2 separate regions of the Homo sapiens genome follow, and region 1 is linked to region 2. The links are contacts of gene promoters, found by promoter capture Hi-C in blood cells and fetal thymus (Javierre and others, 2016). All regions are on one chromosome and are shown on one strand. Each heading gives the region's core, a stretch centred on a gene start or on the middle of the fragment in contact. The rest is flanking DNA. Distances are from core to core; before and after follow the strand shown.

The links. Contacts are between HindIII fragments. The CHiCAGO score rates a contact against its expected background, and 5 or more counts as called.
Region 1: a contact is called between the fragment with the promoter of ACTR2 here and the fragment with the promoter of UGP2 in region 2, in 1 of 17 cell types (activated CD4 T cells). The highest score is 5.6, in activated CD4 T cells.

What each region holds. Positions count from the first base shown.
Region 1 is chr2:65,226,525-65,232,067 of GRCh38, forward strand. ACTR2 (actin related protein 2) reads left to right here and starts at 1,307. Exons shown (of 9, transcript NM_005722.4): 1 at 1,307-1,433. The coding sequence starts at 1,386. It overlaps LOC124907779 (a long non-coding RNA gene), which reads right to left and starts at 1,075. Exons shown (of 2, transcript XR_007086461.1): 1 at 957-1,075. RefSeq lists enhancers at 298-1,187, 1,188-2,076, 2,149-2,238 and a silencer at 1,459-1,648. The HindIII fragment of the contact is 6,982 bases long and covers 1-5,543 here.
Region 2 is chr2:63,838,147-63,843,761 of GRCh38, forward strand. UGP2 (UDP-glucose pyrophosphorylase 2) reads left to right here and starts at 3,750. Exons shown (of 10, transcript NM_006759.4): 1 at 3,750-4,058. The coding sequence starts at 4,040. It also overlaps a transcript of WDPCP not described here. RefSeq lists enhancers at 2,757-2,936, 3,807-3,856 and a silencer at 3,397-3,706. The HindIII fragment of the contact is 3,639 bases long and covers 841-4,479 here.

The DNA of each region.
Region 1 (5,543 bases), core at 57-2,556, 1.4 Mb after region 2:
CTGTATGCCTTTAAAAAGGTTTGAAAATCACTGGTCTAATAAAAGAACAGTGAAAACTGACAGGCAGCTATATTATAAAAAGAATACTGGATTGAGGGTTCATGATGACTGTTTTATTCTAGTTGTTGAACATGTACAGCCATGTCGAAGGAAAAGTTCTATTTCTCACCTCTCATAAAGGATGGCATTTTAAAGGTGAATTTTAATGTCATTCATCTAATAAATATTTGTTGCATGCAATAAGCACAATGTTATTCATATATTCATAGTAAAGTAATAGGGAGAAAGGAAGTACGGAATATCCTGAGGATATCAGCTGTCATCAGAGATGTAACAAGCTGGGTCTCAGAGCACAAGTTTGCCAATTGATTAAAAAGGAAAAAAAATGAGGCATCGTAGATAGAATCATAGGTCCAGAAGAACAGAATTAGAAATAGCTACCACTGAATGAACATTTCCTCCATGCATAGACTTTTATCCTCACCACACCTATGGAGATAGAAGTTATTATCCCCATGCAGACAGGGGTATGCCAAAATCACAAAACTCGTGAGTGGCAGCGCCACGTTTGAAACTGGGGTTGTCTGATTTCAAAGCCAAGGCTCTGGGTTCACAGAAGTACATGTACTTAAGAGGTGTGAAGCAACATGGGACTACTGGAAGGAGGCGGTGAGCCACGAGGCTGGAAATGCAGGCACCTGCTCTCGCTCACTTGACCATAGAGCAACTTGGGCAAAGAAGGGGTGGGCTGACATTGGAGTATGGAACAAACGCATGATTTCAAATAAGCATGTGTGTATCCATCCCAGTTCTGTCCGCTGAAAAGGCCTAGAAGCAATAACACACCAAGCCCTGTCGAATGGTGGGGTCCGCCAGGACCTCCAGGCTTGCTCCCCGCCCTACCCGCCAGCTTCTCCGCCACATTCCACTGCCGCAGCAGAACCGGTGTCCTTCACCTGCCTGCGTCTTCTGCAGTTCGTTAAGCAGCGCCCTTAGCTCCTGTGACACTTTAGGGAGAAAGCCGCAGCACCGGCGATGTTGGCCGCCATTAACGCCCGGCAAAGCGCCCGGAACTAGAAGCAGCGAAGAACCCGGGTGGGCAGCGACCGTGACAGCCGAGCCGGAAGCGGAGCTGCGGGAGGGGCCTCGACGCTCCTCCATCTTTTATTGGAGCTCACCGCTGCCAGTCGCGCTGCCTGCCCGTCCCACCCTTTTCGTGCAGGCATTCAGCTAAATGACGGGCGGAGCCCGGCGGCGGCTTCCGGTCGGGGGAAAAAAGTTGGGCCGAAGGAGGGGCCGGGAAGACGCAAGAGGAAGAAGAGAAAACGGCCGGGCGGCGGTGGCTGTAGGTTGTGCGGCTGCAGCGGCTCTTCCCTGGGCGGACGATGGACAGCCAGGGCAGGAAGGTGGTGGTGTGCGACAACGGCACCGGGGTAAGGGCCGCGCGAGGAGGCCTTGGCGGCCACAGACGCCGGCGGGGACGAGCAGCTGGCGCACGGGCCCTCGGCCCCCAGGGCTGCACCTCCGGGCCCTCGGGGCGAAGGGGCGCGGGGCGGTGCCTCCCACCTCCGCGGGCGTGGGAGCGAGCCGGCCGTTCCCTGGTCTCCCTTGAGCCTGCCACCCATTTAGCCTGCCACCCCCTCACCCTTCCGGGTGGGGGCGGCGGGCGAGACCGGCACTGGACATGGAGCCTACTGACCGCCCGGCAGGGACCTGCTCCGCGCTAATGCGGGGGCAATTGGGCTAAAGCGGACGGAAGCGTAAAAGGCTCGGTTTGTGTGTTCCGAGAAGGGCTCTTTTCCCCAGGGCCACCGGTTTGTAAAAAGGAGAAAGACCTAGAGGCCTTCCTCTTCCTGTATAGTTGAAGATACACCAAACGAGAAGCAGGAAGCGGGTTTACTTAAAAAAAAAAAAAAAAAAAGGGAAGTGCTGTCATGGAGTGTGGACCTCAGCCCTTTCGCTGTGTTTGTTGGGCTTTTTATTAGTTTTTTCGAGGGAAGGGGTCCAGATCGGCAGCGCATCGTTCACTTTTTGTTTTACATACTAGTATTTGGCCCAGGAGTAGGCCCACGGAGACCAGCATGTTCCATTGAGTGGTTTTGGGTGACCTAGGATCCCGCAAGACTCAAGTGTTAATTCCACTAGCCTTAGGGGAAGTTAATTAGTGTTGATTATCCCACCCCCAGCCCCCTTTTTTCCCTTCGTTTCAGTATACAGGTAATGTTAGCCTTTAAGATTCAAAAATTGTAAAATCTGACTAAAGCACTGATTTAGAAACTATTTGAAAATTGTTTCTGTAATCCCAGCACTTTGGGAGGCCCAGGCGGGCAGATCACCAGAGGTTAGGAGTTCGAGACCAGCCCAGCCAACGTGGTGAAACCCCGGTCTCTACTAAAAATACAAAAATTAGCCGGCCGTGGTGGTGCTTGCCTGTAATCCCAGCTACTTGGGAGGCTGAGGCAGGAGAATCCCTTGAAGCCAGGAAGCGGAGGTTGCAGTGAGCCGAGATTGCGCCACTGCACTCCAGCCTGGGCGACAAGAGTGAAACTCCGTCTCAATTATAAAAAAAAAAAATTGTTTCATTCAGACCTCCCTCTTGCCAGATTAAAAAAAAATGTATTTTGGGTAGCAAAGTCAGCAAATTAGAAGATGGAAATATTATTTATTCTGGATGACTTCTATAGTGATTTCTAACCATTTTGATGTTGCAACATTTTGTGAGTTTTCTCCCCTCCCTCCCATAAATATGATGTATGAATTAAAGTTCATTTTACTTGAACAAAACACTTTGGAATCTGAATTGTTGAGGGGGAAAAGAGCTGGTATTTACTGCCATAATACTGCCCTTGATTAGATTTGTTACACAATTTTACAAGCAATAATTATGGTAGCTTCATCTGAACTGTGTTAAAAATGGACTAGAGTAAAAAGAGTGTTAACGTACATTGAGGCCAGGCGCGGTGGCTCATGCCTGTAATCCCAGCACTTTGGGAGGTCTAGGCGGGCGGATCACCTGAAGTCAGGAGTTTGAGACCAGGCTGGCCAACATAGTGAAACCCCGTCTCTACTAAAAATACAAAAATTAGCCGGGCATGGTGGTGGGCGTCTGTAATCCCAGCTACTCGGTAGGCTGAGGCAGGAGAATCGCTTGAACCCGGTAGGCGGAGGTTGCAGTGAGCCGAGATCGCACCACTCCAGCCTGGGCGACAGAGCAAGACTCCGTCTCAAAAAAAAAAAAAAAAAAAAAGAAAAACAAAACATATTAATGTGACGGTTTTTAAGAATGTAATATTTTTAAAAAGGCAGATCCACTGCTATGGAAACGTCTAAGATTTTAAGTTGAAAAAGGTTTTAGAATGATTCAGTTTAAGTGTGTGTTCCTTATTAAAGATGTATGTCCACAAACTTGTATCCGCATATGAAAGTTTTGGAGGGATACATAAGAAATGTTCATAATGGTTACCTATGAGACAGAGGATAAGGGAGTGAGGGAAGATGGAGAGGACTTCATGACCTTTCTGAATTATTGGAAAAATGTTCTTTATTTGAACAAAGCAAGTATTATTAAACTATATTTAAACTAAATTAACCATAAACGCATGTTACATGTGCGGCTAAAATTCAGTTAAATGTGCTTTTTAAAAAAGTATTAGCCTGATTTCCACTATAGTTTCAAATTGGCCTCTAAATAAATAAAAAACTTTAAAAATTGAATTTAAAATTTTTTGTTTTGTGATTGTGTCAGATACTCTTTTTAGAAAGTCAAGCCAGTTATATTTTAATGAATTCTTTTAGGGGTTCAAGGTAATGAGCCCTGTATTTGTAGTATATATGAGTTTTTAAATATTAAATTAGAATGGGAATGTTAACCGAAGCTGATTTTTTTTTTTTTTTTTTTTTTTTTGGACACAGGATCTAGCTCTGTTGCCCAGGCTGGAGAGCGATGGCGTGATCTCGGCTCTCTGCAACCTCTGCCTCCTGGGCTCAAGCGGTTCTCCTGCTTCAGCCTCCCGAGTAGCTGGGACTACAGGCTTGTGCCACCACACCCAGTTAATTTTTTTATTTTTGTAGAGACTGGGTCTCCCTATGTTACCCAGGCTGGTCTTGAACTCCTGGGGTTAAAAGATCTGCCCACTGCGGCCTCCTAAAGTGCTAGGATTACAGGCTTGAGCCACTGCACCCTGCTGTCAGAAGCTAATGTTATGTTACTATTCCATTAGTTAGCTAACATTAGAAGGCTGATTTTAGGCTGGGCGTTGTGGCTCATGCCTGTAATCCCAGCACTTTGGGAGGCCGAGGTAGGAGGTTCACTTGAGGTCAGGAGTTTGAGACCAGCATGGCCATCATGGTGAAACCCCGTGTCTACTAAAAATACAAAAATTAGCCGGGTGTGGTTTCTGATGCCTGAAATCCCAGCTACTTGGGAGGCTGAGGCAGGAGAATTACTTGTACCTGGGAGGCAGAGGTTGCAGTGAGCCAAGATCACGCCACTGCACTCCAGCCTGGGCGACAGAGTGAGACTGTCACAAAAAAAAAAAAAAGCTGATTGTAGTATGTTATTGATTAGTCTTGTGTCTAATCCATGTTTTTAAGATTCTTTTCCTTAAGACAAGTGATCAATTCCTGTCATAAATGAAAAAAGTGAGTGTAATTAATTCAAATAAAATTTATCTGTTCTTATGCTTCTAGTTATTTTAAAATTTTATGCAGATTTTCTATGGACATGATTGGTTTCAAATGAAGAAACAGTGCTGTTAAAATACATGAATCATATAACAGGAATGCTGTAATAGTTCTGAGTATGTAGAGGACTAGGAACCGCTTAGATTGTGTATTCTGTTTCTTACCATTTGTAGACATGAATAATCATCTTGATTTTATTTAGATACCTGAAGTTATAATGATTCCTTTATAATTAAATATTAAAGAAGATATTCAGATGTAATTTTGCAAATTTATGGAAATAGTTGTTATCCTAAGGTGTTTTCATTTGCTCCTTACATGCCTTAGGTTTTAAAATTGTAGGCTGGCTGGGTGTGGTTCCTCATGCCTGTATTTCCAGCATTTTGGGAGGCCGAGGTGAGAGGATTTCTTGAGGCCAAGAGTTTGAGACTAGCCTGGGTTAGTATAACAAGACCCCATATCTAGTAAAAATAAAAATAAAATTACAGGCTTTTTAAAAAGTTACGATTCTTTTAACCTCTCTGGCAGACCCAAATTAAATATTCTAGGACAGGAGTGTCCAGTCTTTTGGCTTCCCTGGGCCACATTGGAAGAGGAATTGTCTTGGGCCACACATGAAATACACTAACAATAGCTGATGAACTAAAAAAATCACCAAAAAAATTTCATAATGTTTTAAGAAAGTTTGTGAATTTGTGTTGGGCCTCATGCAGCCCGTGGGCCATGGGTTGGACAAGTTTGCCTGGAAACAAGTTTGTACTTACGATCACATGACCAATGTTGGTCCCGCTTGATTTTCTATCTCCCAGCTTGACCAGTGTCTCAGTAGGGTTGCCCAGAGGAGGAAAACTCATTTGATC
Region 2 (5,615 bases), core at 2,500-4,999:
ATTTAGTGGCACTAAACTGGTCATTCAATATATACTTATGGAATGTTCGCTATGTACCAGACACTGTGCCAAGCATTAAATCTAAAAAGGCACCAAAAAAGATGCTTAGAAATAGGACCACAGACATGGTTTCCTTGCTGTTGATAGAGAGCTCCTGTCTAAAGCAAAGGAAAAAGATATGGTGAGGTTGTTATACATCCTAGGATATGGGACTGGGTAAACCAAACTGAGTTTCCTCAAGTTTCTATGGGAAAGTAGAAAGAAGGAAGAAATTATAGGCAGAATTTGTATCATCCGTGGATGGTCGCATATGGAACCAGACAAAAACTGGCTTCCAGGCTTTCTTTCTAATTCACAATCCATTTCACTCCAGCTCCTTAACCCTGTACACACTCTTATCAGCCCCCATCTTCATTCTTTGGATCCCCCCACCCCAGGTTTCTGCAAAGGTAAAATCTATAAATCTACCGATGTTACAGATTTCTAATGATACAGATTATCAACATCATGCACCTTGAAGGGATATTCCAGAGTAGTATCTTATGAAAAAAAGGATTAAAGATACACATACTTGCCCAGAGAAAGCAATTTTTCAATGACTGAAATATATAAAGGGAAATAGGTAACTGCTTTCTAAGCATGTCTTTGCTCCATGGCCATTAAGAACTCCACCTCTTTCTTTCCTATCTCCACAGGATTTGTCAAGTGAGGTTGTTCTTAGTGGCTCTGAGAGAGTGGGAAGCTCGCTTACAAAGTGTTTGTGGGTTCAAAATTTAAATTTATACCGATGTATAAAGAAATTTCATTTTATAAGTACTGTTTGGAAATATTTGGAAACTAAGCTTCTAGAGTGCTACTTCTCTAAGAACTAGTGACTGAGTAGTTACAGATGTAGCCCCTGAAGATGGGTAGTTAGTTACTTTTTGGAGAGTTCTTGAGGCAGCAAGTGTACAACAACCTTTGGTACTATATCTCAATATTCAATCACTCATAAATCAAGATGCCATTCTTAGATATTAACAAATGCTCTTGCTGCAATTAAAACCCATTTCCTTTTTAATCTTCCATGAAGGCAGAAAATACAGTAACTGATCATCGTTTCTTATAATAAACCTTGTATAATTAAAAACTCGCCAGGCGCGGTGGCTCACGCCTGTAATCCCAGCACTTTGGGAGGCTGAGGCAGGCGGATCACAAGGTCAGGGGTTTGAGACCAGCCTGGCCAACATGGCGAAACCCCGCCTCTACTAAAAATACAAACATTAGCCAGGTGCGGTGGCACGAGCCTGCGGCCCCAGCTACTCGAGAGGCTAAGGCAGGAGAATCGCTTGAACCCGGGAGGCGGAGGTTGCAGTGAGCCTAGACTGTGCCATTGCACTCCAGCCTGGGCGACAGAGCAAGACTCCGTCTCAAAACAAAAACAAAAACAAAACAACAACAACAAATAAATCTCTTCATTGTCCTTCATCTTTTGCAGGCTAAGTAACCCTACGTGGCCCAAATCTTTCGGTAGTATTTTATTTTGGTACTAATGCTCATTGGTAAAGACTGCTTTTTCAGTGCTGGAACAATTTTTGTACTGTATACAAAGGATGTAGAGATTTTGTTAAGATCTTCAGTCTCCAAATGCTGTTATTAAACTGTAGACATCTGGATTTTAGACACTTGTTTTGTCTGGGGAAAATTCGTTTTACGGCCGAGAGGTTTTTGAGTGTAATCTTTTTGGATTTCATGTAAGAAACACAGTACCAATGGTTGTCATTCTCTAGTATAACAATTTTTCACTAGCCTTTTCTGTGTTGTTTGTTCTAATAACATTTCCATATAAAGACGTAGAACCAAAAAATCAAAGTTCCTTTGTTTAGACAATGAGTCATTAAAAAATTCTCACTTTACCTTGGTTGATTAGTGCTGCCCAAAGCCTCAAACTCTTCTGTAATTACCGTACTTGTTTATTGAAGGCACTTAAGAGAAGGCGCTGGCAAATCATCTGCCCTGGTGCGGGCTATTTGAGTCTTAAAGTGGAAATGCAAAGTCTGAAATGCACTCGCTGCCAGGCACACTGAGTCTTAGATGCAGGTGGGGTTGACGGTACCAGGTGTGATTTGACAAGCCGTGGGCTGGCCCTGTAACAGTCCCCAGGCTAGTGTCAAGTTCCGTGTAACATCCTCTTTCCTTGAGGACTTCAAGAATCTACCAAAAGAAAAGCATCTCTTGAGGAGTAACTTAGGCCAGTTCCACGTTGAAGAGAAAAGTAAACGCCTATCACAGCAGCTCTACAGGATTAGGAACCGGGGCAATGGGGATGGTGGTGGTTCCGGTGAGGGAGCCTTCACTTGTCACTTTCTTCAATGCCTAAACCCTCCTTTTGTTAGCTGGCCCACACAGGCCAATGCCTACTCCCTAACGCATCCTCACCCTCCCCCAACCAGATGTGATGAGGGGAGCAAGCGTCCCCTGAGAAGCGTCTGGGCTCCCTCGGGGCAGCTGCGGTGGGGAGCTCCGGCTCTATCCGCAGGGCTTTCTTTAGTCCCTAGTCAGCGGGAATATTTTTACTGATTGGAAAAATAACCAGTCGTGCTCAGGTGCTCTCCCTCACTGAGATATACTGGCGAGGCTTCCCTGGCCGCAACGCCGCCGTAAGTGCTGCTCCCACGCGCGGTATCCCCGCGTACTGCTCAGTGCCCAACTCCGACGGGCTCTCAAGTGCCGCAACGCCCCGCCCCTTGCCACCTCCACACGTCTCATTGGCCAGAGCCTGCGTCCGCCTCGGCTCCTGACTGGCGGCTGCGCCTGTCGGTCCGTGCGGCAGGGACATTTCCGCATTGAAGGGGCTGCTCCGAATGGAGGGGGAGGGGAGGTGTTTAGGAGAAAGTAGGGGCTGTGGGTGTCGGGAGCCGGCTGACGGGTGGACAAGGGGGGGTTAGCAGCTGGGCTGCGACCGTTAGGGAGGGGCTCAAGGTGTGCATGTGTGAGGGAAGAGAGAGAGAGAGAAGGGCGCCTCAGAGGTGACTTTCAGCCTGCGAGCCTTCTTCCCGGGGCGCCATAAACGCCCCCAATTTCCCAGCTGCTAAAGGAAGAGGAAGGTGGGTCTCGCTGGCGGCTTGAGGAGGGGCGGGGTTGGGCTTCCGGCGACCCCCTGGATGAGTGTGTTTCCCGCTCTCGCTGGCCCGCTGTGTGGTCTCGGAGGCGGAATTTGGGCTTCTGAGGAGCGCAGGGCAGGCGGGGCGAGAATATGTACGGGAAGGGTCGGTGCCCTCCCTTGGGACTCCCGCGCCGGTGCACGGGTCTGCCTCTAGCCGGTGACCCCTTAGTGTCCGCTGCGGGGGAGGGGCAGCGTAGCCTTCGGCCCCTACCGAGAAAAAGCTGCGGCCGGGTTTCACTGCTCGAGGCGGGAAGGCGGGGAGCTGAGGCCCCGACCGGTCGGCCAGCCAGAGCGTGGAATTGGTAGCGCCTCCTAGTCCCAGGATGTTTATGGCTGGTGAAAATGGTTGCACTGCCCCCGCTGGCCGGCCTCGCCCGCCTCCCCGACCCCTGCTTGGGCGGGAGCCGCTGTTAACCGGGGTTTTCGGGGGAGGCGTTTGGGGCCTGGACGGCGGCGCGGGGAGGGGGCAGCTAGGGGCGCGGCCTGCCAGTGCCTCCTGCAGTACAGCCCTGGAGGGCGTGGGGACTTGGGGGCGGTGAAATAGCCGCTGTAGGTCCGCCTCTTTCATTGAAGAAATTTAAGTTCGTGTGGTTTTACCTTTTCCGGGAGTCTCCAGCTGGCCCTCATTTGTGTCCGGAGCTCAGGAGTTCCCAAACCGACTCAGTCGCACCAAGTTTCCGTCTTTTGGAATTGGGGAAGGAGTTTCTTTCTTTCTTTTCTTTTTTCTTGAGCCAGTTTTAATCGCTTTGAATAAATACTCCCTTAAGTAGTTAAATATAGGAGGAGAAAGAATACATCGGTTGTTAAAGCAGGAGAGGAAGAGAGACCTGCCCTGTAGCGTGACTCCTCTAGAAAAAAAAAAAAAAAGCCGGAGTATTTTACTAAGCCCCTAAAATGTCGAGATTTGTACAAGGTAAGAAATGCTGCTGCTTATATCCCGAGTTGCTTCAGGCAAATTTGGGTACTGACAGTGGAGAGGTTGGTGGGTGGTTTGGAAGTGGAAATGTTCATTTGAGATAACATTTGCGAAACCCTTTTCGTTGAATTGTCATCTGAGCTGCCTTGAGCTGCTGGGTTGACGTTCCAGACGCGTATAATTTATGCTCCTGTACCCTGCTGGGTTTAGTTTTGCCTCCCTGAAATCAGGTTAGTAGTACCGTCGCTTTCCTGGATAGTGGCTGTAAGTGATAAAACAGGATTTTTGGCTGCTAATTAATCCTTGTTCTCTTTTCCTGGTCTGTGTCAAGGTACCTGTGCGTGCACGCAGACGGGAAGGGCTGGGGAAGCGGGAGGACTGAGAAAAGCCGGGTGGGTTTTGCCGGGACTGTTGGGGAAGCTTTAGTGTTCTCCGCTTCTACTTCGTTTGTGTGTACGTGGTTTGCGTCTCAGATTCACTTATTGCGAAACTGGGAGTAGCCCGAAGAAGCTGGAGGTCATTTCAGCTGGAGAAATGACTTTGCTGCATTGCTGTGTTTATTTTTTCCTTTTTTGAACTATGAAAAGATGATTAAGGTTCCTTTGAAGTTTGAAAACTGCTCTCTAAATTCCACATGTGTATTTAAAAAGGGTTAGGGAATGCCTCAACTGAGATTATCAGTAACGTGTATATGAATGCATGTGTGTACGGTGTACTCACTGAAATTGGTGCTGGCATAAACCTTTGACACCAGTTTGTAGCATGAGATTTGCCTTCTGGTATGCAAGTAAACTCTTTCCTTGTAGACTCCAGTGTGTGAAAGCTTCAGCCATCTTGATGAACACACAGCTAGTAAAGTTCACAAACACTTATTATGCTTCCTGATAAATGTAGGTGTACTTTTGGAAAAAAAAAGTTGTGTCAGTAATGGCCATCATTTGACCCTGGGAATAAAAATGCCCTACTGAGTTCTACATCGCTTTATTAACTCTTCTTTAAATTTTGTGTAGTAGATTAAAGTAAGAGAATTCGACTGCCTGTGTTATTATCGAAACAGATCGAACGCTATGCTTGCCTTTAGCGCTAAGCTCAGAAATGTCACTTGTTATTAGACTTTCAAATTCATGTTATACCTTATATGTGGTAAGAGATGCTTATGTTCTGATTGAGTAAATGTCTTATTCAAGAATAGAAAGGCAGAACTGTTAGAAACGTACTGGTTTTGTAATAACAATATTCAGTTACCATAAAGGCGGTATTTTGCAAGAATATGCTAGGTAAAAGTGGACAAGTTACTTCTCTTTAAAAGTTAGAAATATTAATAAACCCAAGGTGTTCCATGTAGAGTTATGCTTTAGAATAGGTTGCAGAATTGGCAAGCATTGACTGATTTCACAGCCTTTGCTGTAATGCCAACTTGTCCTCAGAAGATTCAAAATCAAGTGGTAAGAGTTGCTGTGTATGTTTGTCATTACTTTGTCATCCACTTTTTTTAAAAAAACTTTTTATATTTTGGAATACTTCAGGATTTATAGAAAAGTTGCACATTTGTCA